2 separate regions of the Homo sapiens genome follow, and region 2 is linked to region 1. The links are contacts of gene promoters, found by promoter capture Hi-C in human tissues and cell types (Jung and others, 2019). All regions are on one chromosome and are shown on one strand. The core of a region is centred on a gene start or on the middle of the fragment in contact, and the rest is flanking DNA. Distances in the headings are between cores, read along the strand shown. Region 1 holds the start of TEX2 (testis expressed 2). Region 2 overlaps TEX2 (testis expressed 2).

Evidence for each region. Contacts are between HindIII fragments. The study calls those that stand out against the background at their distance.
Region 2: a contact is called between a fragment that was not itself captured here and the fragment with the promoter of TEX2 in region 1, in 10 of the 25 tissues and cell types used here (H1 embryonic stem cells, IMR-90 fibroblasts, aorta and 7 more).

What each region holds. Positions count from the first base shown.
Region 1 is chr17:64,259,180-64,265,814 of GRCh38, forward strand. TEX2 (testis expressed 2) reads right to left here and starts at 4,081. Exons shown (of 12, transcript NM_001288732.2): 1 at 3,989-4,081. RefSeq lists a silencer at 3,669-4,278. The HindIII fragment of the contact is 9,945 bases long and covers 1-6,635 here.
Region 2 is chr17:64,148,725-64,154,938 of GRCh38, forward strand. TEX2 (testis expressed 2) reads right to left here. Exons shown (of 12, transcript NM_001288732.2): 9 at 6,118-6,214; 10 at 4,221-4,430; 11 at 2,117-2,237; 12 at 1-367. The coding sequence ends at 245. Among named protein-coding and RNA genes, the nearest start is that of SNORA50C, 5.5 kb to the left of the region's middle. The HindIII fragment of the contact is 7,367 bases long and covers 1-6,214 here.

The sequences.
Region 1 (6,635 bases), core at 2,831-5,330:
GACAGGTGAAACTGTCAGGACTGTAGCCTTCTGACTCCAAGTCTAGTGTTCTCTCCACCCCACCAATGCCAGTCAAGGGCTTCTGAACTTTCATGACCTCCTAGCATCCCTCTCATTAATGGTGCTTCATGGACATTTCACGCAGTGTAATTACGCATTATAAAGAGTTTGGAAAGGAGCAACACAAAATCTTGTATAACCTATGAGTTGCTTTAAAACTCACATGTAAGAATATTCACAACAGCATGGGCTTCCAGTCTTCTTATTACAATATTTACTTTAAACTTGGGATTTAAAGTTGACAAAGACCTTAATGAATAGGAAGACAAAGGGAGCTGTCTGTCCATGGCTCGTTAGCTCCTGAAGTTAATGTTTCTCACAGGGACAAGAGTCAGCCAAAGGATAGTGCTCTAGGCAAATTGGAAAATGTTCCTCCAGCCACAAACCATGGATTATTGCCTAGGCGTTGAGTGGCAAATCTTACGAGATGCTTCCCAGCTTTTCCCAGTTAACCATTCATCCTGTCAGTGGACAGCATGACCTGTTATTGGGTGCTCACTAGAACCAGGGACATAAGTGATCTCATTTAATTCTTACAACTACCTATAAATAATATACTACCCTAGTTCATCTAAGACCATTGACTATAAGACACACTGTTATTTTATGTGCCAAAAAAGGAAGCCACTGCTGACTACAAGTCTAAGACCCCATACATTACAAGATGCTTTTTTTCCCCAGGAATGTTAACATTACATAAATTACACTGTCTTAGCATTGTTGAAATGGGAATATTTTCCCACTTTACAAAGAAACTGAGGTACACAGAAAGAGAAGTAATTTACCCTTAAGGTCACAGAGCTGGTAAGCAGAGCACAAGGATACAGACCCAGTCAGTCCAGTCACCTTTTCATGGCAGTAAAAGATTTCCCAATAGCCTCGTGAATTACTCAAAACTGCACTTGGCAGAGAGACAGACATCGGCATCTAACTCTGGCTCCAGCAGGAGCACAGGAGCTCATTAGTGCAGCAATTCTCTGAACATCTCTGAACCTGACCACTCTGAACATGTCCACTCAAGAGGACACTGCAAGAGACATCTCTAATAAACTGCCATTTCTCTCCAGGGAAAAACAACGTGGTACAATGGAAAAAGTGTGTTTTGTTTGCTTGGACACAGGGTCTTACTCTGTCATCCAGGATGGTCTCAAACCCTTGGCCTCAAGTAAACCTCTTGCCTTGGCCTCCCAAGGTACTGGGATTACAAGATGTGAGCCACTGTGCCTGGCCCAAAAAGCACGTTTTTTGAATCAATGTCCTAGACTGACATTCTTGCTCCACCATCTAACCAGCTTGTCACCTTGGGCAAGTTACTACTTTGCTCTGAGCCTCGGTTTCCTCTTCTGTAAAATGAGGCTATCACACCTCCATTAGAGGGCTGCTCTAGGACTGGAGAGGATATATACATAAGGGGCAGAAAACAGTACCTGGCTGAGTTGGAACTCAACACTGCTCTCTTTTCTATACTAGTCTTCTGCCTTGGGACAGAATCAAAGAATAAGCATTCCCTGTGACCTCAGCAATTCCCAAGGAGACCTTCAGGAGATAAGGATCAGACAGAAGAAAGCAGACCCTGAGGGATATTCAGGCAAAGAAAATGAACTAGAAACACCTAGAGAACAAGAGACAGTGTGTGTTTAATGAACTTCCTAACTCTGAATGAATGAATTGACAAATGGAAAAAAAGAAAGAACAGGCACTTTCCATCAAAAGATACCAGTCAACAGACGTGAGGATTAATATAATTTTATATTGAACCTGACACAGAAAACTGGTCTTTGAAGATTCACTTTGATACTGAAAGTAATCTACAGTGAGGAGAATTTCCCCATTGCTCTGTTCTCATATTAAGTAATAAACTGTGCAGTTCTCCCCTCTCTTTCCTCAAGGGATTCAGAAAACCTTCCAGAAAACAGAAGCATTTGACTTGAAGGAAAGGCAACTAATATGGCATATAGAAACAAACTCTTCATCCTTTAAAAACAAAAAAACCCTCCATCATTTCTATAATGTCTAGCAGTTTCTGGCATACAGCAAAATTATTATTATTTTAATAAATAATTTCTTTTTTAACTCCAGGCAACTGCTTTTTGTCCAAAACATGCTACGTATTTATTCTATCGAAAAGCCTAATCTTTCCTGCTTCTTCTCCAGAAGCATTCTAACATAACCTCTAATAATGAACATTATGTTTGGTATATGCTGTGTCTAATCTTCTCTCACGATGACATAACTTGCTCTTCAGACCTCCAACAATCAGCCCAAACCAAACTCCTGAATTTTTCCTCCCTCCTCGTCTGTCCCAGCCCCTCGGTTGCTTGTCAGTAGACTCAATTACCACCATCTTCTGATCTGAATCAATTTGTTAATCTCCTTCCTCTCAGGCACAGTGCCTTTTACTGGAGATAAACATGCAAGCAAGTTCAGTTCACCCAGAGCCCTCCACATCCTCTCCCTCCAAGCCTTCACACTCCCAAAGGGGCCCAGAAAAAAAAGAAAGAAATGATATGGCAAAATCCCACTCTATCCACATCACCTCAGGGGGCTTGTTTACCATAACTTTAGACCAACTACCATTTTTGGGGAGAATCTGAAAGAATATTGTTTATGGGCTAGGTAAGAGCTAACAGAAATGGCAGTTTCATTCTTCCAATATGAGACAAGCGTCTCTGTGTGACCCAGCCCTAAAACTCACAAACCTAGACTCCTCAAACTCCCCATACTCCAGAGTTCAAGGATAACCTGCCCTCCATTTTTCCTTATTGTTTTCCATATAAAAGTCACTCGTTGTTTCCCCTCCAGCTTACACCTGGCTCCTGAAATGACTCCTCTGAATCCTCTGAGAATCCTCAAAACATGTAAAAGCCTCATTCCTTTTAATGCATGTGCAGAGCGGTGATGGTGTGAAGACGCTGGCACTTCAAACGTGAACGTGGCACGAGCCCTGCCCTCAAGGAGCCCACAATTTTCCCTCAACTCTAAAAAAGGATGTCCTCCCTGGACAGTGTCTGTAAAACACAGTGACAAAGTACTTCATAGCTCTGGAGAAAGAGCGAGGGTGGAAACAGACTTTGCCCTTACATTTGACGCCCAGTAACCATAACAACCGATGGTTTAAGTAACTATCAACCCACTGAGGGGCTAAGTTTTCCAAAAATCGTTTTCAAAAGGGGAAGACTCCCCTGCACCAACTCCCATGGCAGCCGTACGCTCTAGGCAGCGTGTGGTGCAATGTGGCCAGCCGTTCCCCGCCTTCTCCGGTTCCACCGTATGGTTTCCGTGCTCAGCAGCCAGCAGCGACGGCGTCCACGGCCACACCGCCTCCCCGCAAGGCACCTGGCGCTAGGCCTCAGCCCAATGTCACTTGTTAACCTTCCGATCCCCCGGATTTCGGCACGCCGCCGCCTCCCTGCTAAAGCACACAAACCACCCCACCGCCACCCGCGTTCTCCAGGAGTTGGAGAAAAACCACCGGGGCGCATACAACCTCTGACAGATTCGAGTAAAAGTAACTGCGGTTCTCGACTTTCAAGCATTTCGCGTCGCCGGTGAGGGGGGCGGCAGGAACCCGGGGCCCCATTCATAAAATTGCAAGCCGTTTTCCTCTAGTTTGCGCGTGACGGTGCCTCCCTGCCCGGGGCCGGGGACCGCAGGCTGAGGGGACGGGGCCGGCAGCTCCTCCCGCCGGAGTCGAGCCCGAGCCATCCGGCGGGGCCCCGAAGGAAGGGATTGCCCGGGGGTGTCGCGGGTGGGCGTCCCCTTCAATACCTGAACCATGACAGCGGGGTGGGGGGCCGAGCCCCGCCACGCCAAGGGCCGCCGGACCCGACCGGTACTTTGAAGCCCGCGGGGTCGATCCGCGCCCAGCCCGGGCCTTATCCGCGGGGCGCTCCCTCCACCGCCCCCGCCTGGCCCTGAGACTGCTCACCCAAGATCCGCTGGCTGCCTCATTGTACTATGCCGGCGCCCGTGCTCCCGGCCGCGCGACTCCGGCTTCGGCTGGGGCACCGGCCGCGGTCCTGCTGCCCTGCCGCCCGCCCGCCCCCGGGCACACGCCGCCCCGCCCCGCCGGCGGACCCGCCCCGCGCCCGCGGCCGCCGCCGCCAACCAGAGGGCGCGGGGGCGGAGCAAACGGCACGCCAGGCCCAACCAATCCAGTTCTACCGCGCGCCGAGGTGAGGCCGCGGAAATGGGGGAGCGATTTGTCAGGTCTGTTAAAGGGGCCACCGCCCTTGGAGCTAGGGAGAGGAGTGGTGGGGAGGGTTACCTGGAAGAGCCCCAGGTGAGGGGGACAAAAGCTTCACTCTCCCAACGGGGCTGCACACTGTCCCCAGCTCTTTGCACTTCTTAATTTCCTCTTCCTGCAGTCTAGCAGCAACAAGTGCCCTTGAGACGAGGGCTGGGGGTTGAGGTGGGGTGACTGAGGCGCGGAGAACCAGGGGTATCCCCCTGGGCAAATTCACTCGATTTGCATTTTAGAGGGCCATCAGACGTATCTATCCCCATCCAACTGCAGACATTGATTTAAAAAGGCAAATTCCCAGTTTCCCGCATTATGTACTTCCCCCACCTGACTACCACACTACCACATCCTATCCTGAACTAACTCTGTTACTAGTTTTTTTGTTTGAGACGGAGTCTCGCTCTGTCGCCAGGCTGGAGTGCAGTGCCGTCATCTGGGCTCACTGCAACCTCCGCCTCCTGGGTTAAAGCGATTCTCCTGCCTCAGCCTTCCGAGTAGCTGGGATTACAGGCGCGTGCCACCATGCCCAGCTAATTTTTGTATTTTTAGTAGAGACGGGGTTTCACCATGTTGGCCAGGATGGTCTCGGTCTCTTGACCTCGTGATCCGCCGGACCCAGCCTCCCAAAGTACTGGGATTACAGGCGTGAGCCACCGCGCCTGGCCACGAGTTCTTAGAGCTTAGAACTTATATAGTATTAACTACTCATTTTTAGAGAGGCAATATCTGAGGCTCAGAGAGGTAAAGTGACTTCTCGAGGTAAATTCTCACTTAGAATGAGCTTCCTGGGATGGCAATGCCCATTGTGCATTTATCTTCTGCGAACCTGGGTTGGCTGGCAGAAGCACTGGCACATAGGGAGAGTTCCCCCTTCCCCCGTAGTCCTTGCCCCTCTGCACTTCCCACCCACCACAAGAAAGGACCAAGACAACAAACAGATGTGTCAGTGTGTCTCCTGCATTAGTGGGTCCCAAATGTCAGATCTTCAACGTCAGATCATCCTGGAGGGTTTTAACATGAAGATCTCTAAGTCCCACCCCAGAACCTGTAATTCAGTAAGTCTGAGATGGCCTTCGACACCCCTCCCTCCAGGTGATTCTAATGCAAGTGGTACAAGGACCACACTCAGGTGCGTGTTTTGAGTCTATCATAGTCATGAAATTCAAATTCAATTGGCAAAATGAAAGCCAAACTCCTTTCATCCTCAGAATTAGTAATATGGTTGGGAGACTTGCTAGTAAGGGAGGAGGTCACCTACTAAGACACTCATAACAGAATAAGTCATGCCAAGAACTGAGTGTAGAAGGGCACTGGACCCAGATGAAACAACATCTGAAAGATTGAAATCCTCAAGCAGGAAGAAGATTTGATGCCTCAAGCAGAGGGAAGCCAGGCTAGTTCTCTGACCCGTGAGACAGTGCATAAATATCTTAATGGCAGACACACTCCGGCTCACCACCAGGCCCAGTCATGATCCCAGAAGAATGCCCTGCTACTCTGGTGCCTCATTCCAATGCCAGCAAGCCCTGCCTACCCTCCTGGCAACATTCCTCTCCCCTTCCTAGTATCCCAGACACCTGCCTGACCCAGAAGTCATTGTCCTCAGACTTGGAGGTCAGCCCTCGCCCACTAGATCTTGCAGGTCAGCTGCCTCCCACACAGATCTCAGGCTCTTGGAATGGCCTCCACACAATAACCCTGTTTGTGCTGTGATTTCTGATGGATGTTGTGTTGCCAGGGACAACTCTGCACAAGGATTGATCAGCCTCATGAGAATGCAGTCTCTGGGCTGCAGGCATTACTGCCTGGGATCACCACTTGCTTCTGTTGCCCTTCCCAAAGGAAAAAGAATTCATGTCCCAACAGAAGAGGTTTCCAGTTGTGGTTTTCTGGAAATGTGCAACAAAGGCAGTTACCAATGGAGACACAGCCTGAAGCTCTCCTTGGCCACATCTTCAGCCCCCTGCCTCAGGGAGAGAGAGAGAGAAAGGGTAGGGGCCCTGGAGCTGCCCCTTGCAAAGGTCCTTGGAAGCTGGCAATGTGCCTCTCAGAGTGCCCACCAACCTCCTTTCCCTACCAAGCTCCACGTAAGCATTAAATTAATTAATACACTACCAACCAGATCTCAAACTAGAAGCCAGTAAGATCCAGCATGAACACTTAGAAGGATCCCTTCTTTTTGAAATCTGAGGAATTTGGATGCATTGAAAAATAAATGAACATATCATAACACAATAATGTTTCCTACCTTTTTTTTTTTTTTTTTTTTTGAGATGGAGTCAGCCTCTGTCATGTTGCCCAGGCGGGAGTGCAGTGGCGTGACCTTGGCTCA
Region 2 (6,214 bases), core at 1,459-3,958, 110 kb before region 1:
CCATGATTCTTCCATGGTCTCCTTTGCCAAATCAAAGCTTTGCAGCAGGCAATCCAGACAGTTGTCACTAGATGCAGGGAATGACACCTCACAGTGGAATGGGCACTGGCAGGCAGAGGGCAGAAGCAGTCCTTTAAGAAACAGTAGCTGTGGCACAGAGGCCAGTGCTACAGTACAGATGGCGGCCAAGAACCCCACACATCCAGCTCGATGTCACAATATGGGGAACATCTGACATCACCCATCATGGCTGATCAGCAGCCTCCACAGGTGGGTCTTTCAGGAGGCAGGAAGTAGAGCGAGGGTCCATGGCTGAGTGCATTATAGTGATATAAACATCATCCATGTTTGGCATGACAAAAACTTTCTGTAGGAAGATATTAAAGAACAGCTATGTGGAAGAATGCCTTGCCAGGCTGTCACCCTCCTTTGTTCTGATAATTTTAGGGCTTAGACTGATTTTTAAAAGTACATATAAAAACTTGCTATGCATTCCAAACTAATTCTCCCACCATACATACTTTAGAAAGAGTTGAGGAATCATACCAGCGCATGGATACGAGAATCCTCTAATATATCAGCTCGGAGGCAGAAGTGGCCTTTGATTTTGTATACATATAATAAGGTTGCCCATATGCACTGATATATATCCAACAATTTAAGAGAATTGGCTTAAGCTGTTCACAGTAGTTCCCAGTTACTATGTCTAGAACACATATTCCATGTGAATTATCCTTTTATTAATAAATCCTAGCGATAAAATGTAAGCTAATGGCCAGGTGCGATGGTTCACGCCTGTAATCCCAGTACTTTGGGAGGCCAAGGCAGGCAGATCATCTGAGGTCCAGAGTTCAAGACCAGCCTGGCCAACATGGTGAAACCCTGTCTCAACTAAAAATACCAAAAAATTAGGCCAGGCATGGTAGCTCACACCTGTAATCCCAGCACTTTGGGAGGCCGAGGTGGGCAGATCACGAGGTTAGGAGATCGAGACCATCCTGGCTAATACAGTGAAACCCCCATCTCTACTAAAAATACAAAAAATTAGCTGGGTGTGGTGGCGGGTGCCTGTAGTCCCAGCTACTCGGGAGGCTGAGGCATGAGAATGGTGTGAACCTGGGGGACGGAGTTTGCAGTGAGCCGAGATGGCGCCATTGCACTCCAGCCTGGGCGACACAGCAAGACTCTGTCTTAAAAAAAAAAAAAAAAAAAAGAAAGAAAAAGGGAAAAATAAAAGGCATGATGTTCTTTCCCCTCAGTAGGTTCAAAGTACTTTTCTATTTGGTGATGACATTAAGCTTTTTCAGAAATTGGTTATCAGTTATGTTTAATCTCTAGTTTTTAAATAAGAGGATTTTTTTAAGGCAGTAACTCAAAATATACCACTGCAAAAAGAATGTAGGTCTTCTTCAAAAGGTGAATTTCATTAAAAGTAAATAGTTTGCTAATCCATAAAACCCCGACAGACAACTGTGCTTCAAATATCTGATAAAAGTTTGATGGAAATAGCTCATCCTAGGGCCTCAGCTATACTGCTATTACCTTTGGTGGCCAAATGCAGAAAGAAAAGCTGAGAGAGTAAGCTCTGGCTTAATGAACTCCCAGACTACACTAGAAGCTACCCAGGGGAGGGAGAGGCCAGATTCATCTTTGGACTCCCAGGGCAGGTGGTACCTGGCACACAGAAGGGTTTCCAGGAATGTTTGTTGAACTGAACAAACTGAGCAAGGTGAACAGCACACAAGAACAGGGGGCAGCCTCCCTGCCCACAGGCCGGGTGCTAAGAGTTGGGCAAGGCCAGGCCTTGCATAAGAGAAAACAAAGCCTGACAGTCCTGGCAGGCTTGCTGGGAAAAGACATCATCATTTTGCTCTGACCCAAATCTTTTGGGTTTCCTCTGAAGATGACTTAGTAATGTTCTGTGGATAAGTTTCAGGGCTTTGATACTGTACCTGAAGTTTTATTCCCATATTTGATCAAATGTAATACTCTTCCGGGATGAAGGTCACCATCAGATTTTCAAAAGAGGATCCTGACCCAGCTGAAGTTCAGAACCTCGGCTAAACCCAGAGCTTCTATACTTGGTGTGAAATACTAGATAACACTAGAGGTTTACCTGAAACTCTTGCTCCAGTTTCTTCTCTATCCAGTCTGTCACATGAACTAAAGTCACTTCTCTCTCTCCAAGTTTTGGCCGAGCTTTCAGCTCCACATGTGGTGGCTTTCGGAAACCATACCTTTTTGAAGACAAGTAATAACCACATTTAGAAGCAAAGCAAGGAATGAGACAGGCACTGACAGCAAACAGTTCTCATTTACATGGGGCTTTATCACTACTTAAAATGTTATTTTCTTCTGAAAATGCCCTCTAAAAATATTCCACACACAAAGTATGAATTGTGAACCCCCTGTGTTCCCTGGATGGTGTTAGGGCTGTGGCGGATTTAGAACAGTTCTGACAAACTGAGAGAGCCAGGAAGCACCACTGGAAAAGTCCATGACCTGGGCATTGGTTTCTGTTTTTTTCTAAAATGGCAATAACCTTTTTTCTTTCAATTTTTATAAAAGTAGTATATGTACATTACAAAAACAAAACATACATACAAGCAGATAAAGCAGAGAGTGAAAGACACACTGCCTCTCTCTGAATGTCATCCCCAAGAGAGGACTATTGACAGAAGTAGGGTGAACTCCCCTTACATTCTCCTGTGCATATGTCGATCAATAAGGTTTGAAACCTGTTTTTTCATCCTACACCCCAACAATACGCTTTGTATGACTTCCCGAGGGAGCAGACTGGCAATCAGAACTGTTGGCAAAGTATCCAGACAAGACCCTGTATGCTATCAACTATCTAAAACCTTAAATCTGTCCTGGACCAGTGCTTTTGGAAATACAGTAAAAATGTCAAGTTGCCATAAATATTTCTAAACACTCTATACTTATCTTTATGGATCAATAACACATAGTTCAGCATTTGAGCATGCCTTGGGTAGCACTATCCTAGAGCCCTTTTATTTTATCTCCCCCTGAGCAGAGGCATTTAAAACTGATAAATCTAAAGAATTGGCAGTAAGGAGAAGAAATGTATCAATTTTAACTATTAAAATTTTTTTAAGGTTTGAAAGACCATACAATATATTAACAGTGGTTATTTCTGGATGGTGAGATTATGGGTTTTTATTTATTTATCTATTTTTCACCTTTTCCCAATCTTTCTCTTTTTTTTAACAATGAAAATATTACTTTAAAAAAGTATAAAAAGGCATTTTAAAGTTTTATTGGGAAATACCAGCATTATCGTTAAATGGTTAGTCAATTCAAAACCCCTCTTCTGATCATTCCTACAAATCCTTCTGAATACCGATGGTATGTACTAGCATGTTGGTTTTACTCTATGATAGAACAGAGCTATATTTTTGTTATGAGTGTAGTTTATGGTACAATGAGATCTCTTATGCAATCACTATTTACACTTATGCCCATTTTTATAGGACTTAGCATGTCAATTTTAAATTGAGATTCACAGGCAGTGATGCTGAACTCATCAGTAATTTATTTCAGTGACTCTCAACCCTGGCTTCATCACCCCCGACCCCTGAAATCCGGGGGGATGGGCCAGGCATAGCTATATTTTTAGCAAGTCCCCAGGTGATTTTAACATGCAGCTGGGGCTGAGAATCCAGTCCTCAGACACCAAATGCACATGCTCCTGACTCCTCAGCATTGAGGCCTAACTCAGGGAAGTCTCCCTAACTTCCCAGACTCTGTTGGATGTGTGATCCCCATCTTTAAAGTAGGGATAACAATGGCATCTACCTCAACAGGATGCTATGAGGACTAATCAGGTAATGCAATTACAACCAGGGCCAGGCAGAGAATAAAGGCGCTATCTACAAATGACAGCTGTTATTACTGGCAGAACAGTTGGCTTTACAGAGGAGGAAGACCAATAATAGAAACAGCTTATCTCATAAACTTCATGTATTGACTTTAACTTTTCCTACCATGTGAACATGAATTCTTGAATGTGAATTCACCACTCACAGAAGAAAGTACCATCAGATTTGCAACTAATATTAAGGTCCCATGAAAATTGTTTGGAAGTGCTTCTGCCCGGGAGAAGGTACTTTCCATAACCTCAAGGTTAAGCAGGCTGGGATTTCTGTGGCCATGCAATAGGAGGAATCACTTATTGTCCCTGAGGGCCCTCTACGCACCATACTCGGTCAGTCGGGGGTGGTGGAATGTTGACCGCCAAGGTTCCTCTACATTCTTGTACTTCAACAGTGAGCAGCAGGGGTGTGTTGGAGACTTCTTCGATCTTCTTTTTAATAAACTCTGTCTCTGTTGCTTTTTGGAAATATTTTGACTTGGTAATTTTATCAACAAACCTCATAATCTTACTTGTTCGATGACCTCCAACGTACCTTCAAATGTGGAACACAAAGGGCGGTTAGCACAAACTTTGCTCTTTTCACAGACAAAAACCTGTGGCTCTTCGTTCCCCTTACTTTAGAGCACCACTCGATGTTTTGGATGTGGTGATTCTGTGTTGGGGCGGGGGGCATCCTGTGCATTGCAGGGTGTTCAGCAGCATCCCTGGTCTCTACCTACCAGATGCCAATAGCACTCCCCCTAGTTATGACAATAAAAAATGTTGCCAGACATCGGCAAATGTCCTCTGGGGGGCCAAATCACCCCCAGTTGAGAACTACTACTTCAGAGAAGGTGTAAATGTCTGAAACAGTCCAAACCTTGACAATGGAGAGCTGGACAAAGTCCTCATGCAGAGGTTTCTCACCTGTCCTCCTTTATACTACTCCAATACCAGACAGAAATCCAATGACATATCAATCTCATAATCTCCATGCAGCAAGTAACAAATCATGCTGCATCAATAGGACATAAATCAGTAATTAATGGACTGTCTTTAGGTGGTGTCACATGGCTACCTTGAGTGGCAATTACTTTTCAAAGGGCTTGGAACTTCTTAAAGAAAAATGTAGCCTGGGCAACACAGTGAGACCCCCATCTCTACAAAAAACAAACAGAAAATTAGCCAGGAGTGGTGGTGTGCATCTGTAGTCCCAGCTACTCGGGAGGCTAAAATGGGAGGATCACTTGAGCCCAGGAGGTTGAGGCTGCATTGAGCTATGATCGTGCCACTGCACTCCAGGCCTGGGTGACAGAGCAAGATGCTGTCTCAAGAAAACAAACAAACAAACAAAATGCTACACCAAGTTGACGTGCTCACAGGCCAAGAAAATAAGCTGTTGTATCAGGTCACATGTACCATGAGACTCAGAAGAAAGGATATTTGCTTTTTAAAATCCCCCACAGTTCCAGAACATGAGGAAAAGTATGTGTTCAGGGAAAAGCAATCATTCTTAAGAGGGTCAAGCAGCTAGACTGTAAATAATACACACAAACTTTGGCACCAACTCCTCAAACATCTGAATTCTCATCTCCTGTAGGATTTCAAAAGTGAATAGGTTGGTTTTTTCTTATAAAAGTTTCTGAATTATTTGGCTTCTTTTAGTTTCTTCAATTCACTTTATGTAATTAAAAGATCATTGTGGATAGGCTATTTAAGCACTTTGATCATTTCACAGCCCAAGTTAACAGGGAAAGAGTAACCCCCTCCAAATGAAGTTCATGATCCAAAAGATCAGCTCAGTCATCAGCGCTTTCAAAACTCGCCAAAGAAAATCATCTGAATGTTTCTGCTTTGCAGGAACTTGCAGCTCAACAGAAGCAAATGCACTCCAGCTGAAGCTGAGGGGAGGGAGGCTCTCCGGGGGGAGGGGGTGTATGCTCGGTTCCTTCTGAAGGCTCAGGGAGATGCTTTTCATCATCAGCACACCCTTCAACTTCTCTATTATTTAATCAAACAGCAGCAGAAAGCCATTTTAGTAAGGAAAGCTATATGGGTCTTTTTGCTTGGTTGCCTGGAATTTAAACAGACCACTGACCTGGGATATTAATAAAAAAACCATCTACTCAACATTAAAGAGGAAGGAAGATCACAGAGGAAGGAAGGGAAACAAGGTTCACTCCCAACTTGCTGTCCTGATCCCTGGAGACTCAGAGGCACAGAAGCACTGATCCACTCACCCTTCAGCCCCTGGGAGGAGCTGTTTGTCTCCCCCGCTGGGCTCTGGGGCATCGTCTTCCTCGGAGGAGCCAGCGCTGGAGGATTCCTCATCGCTGT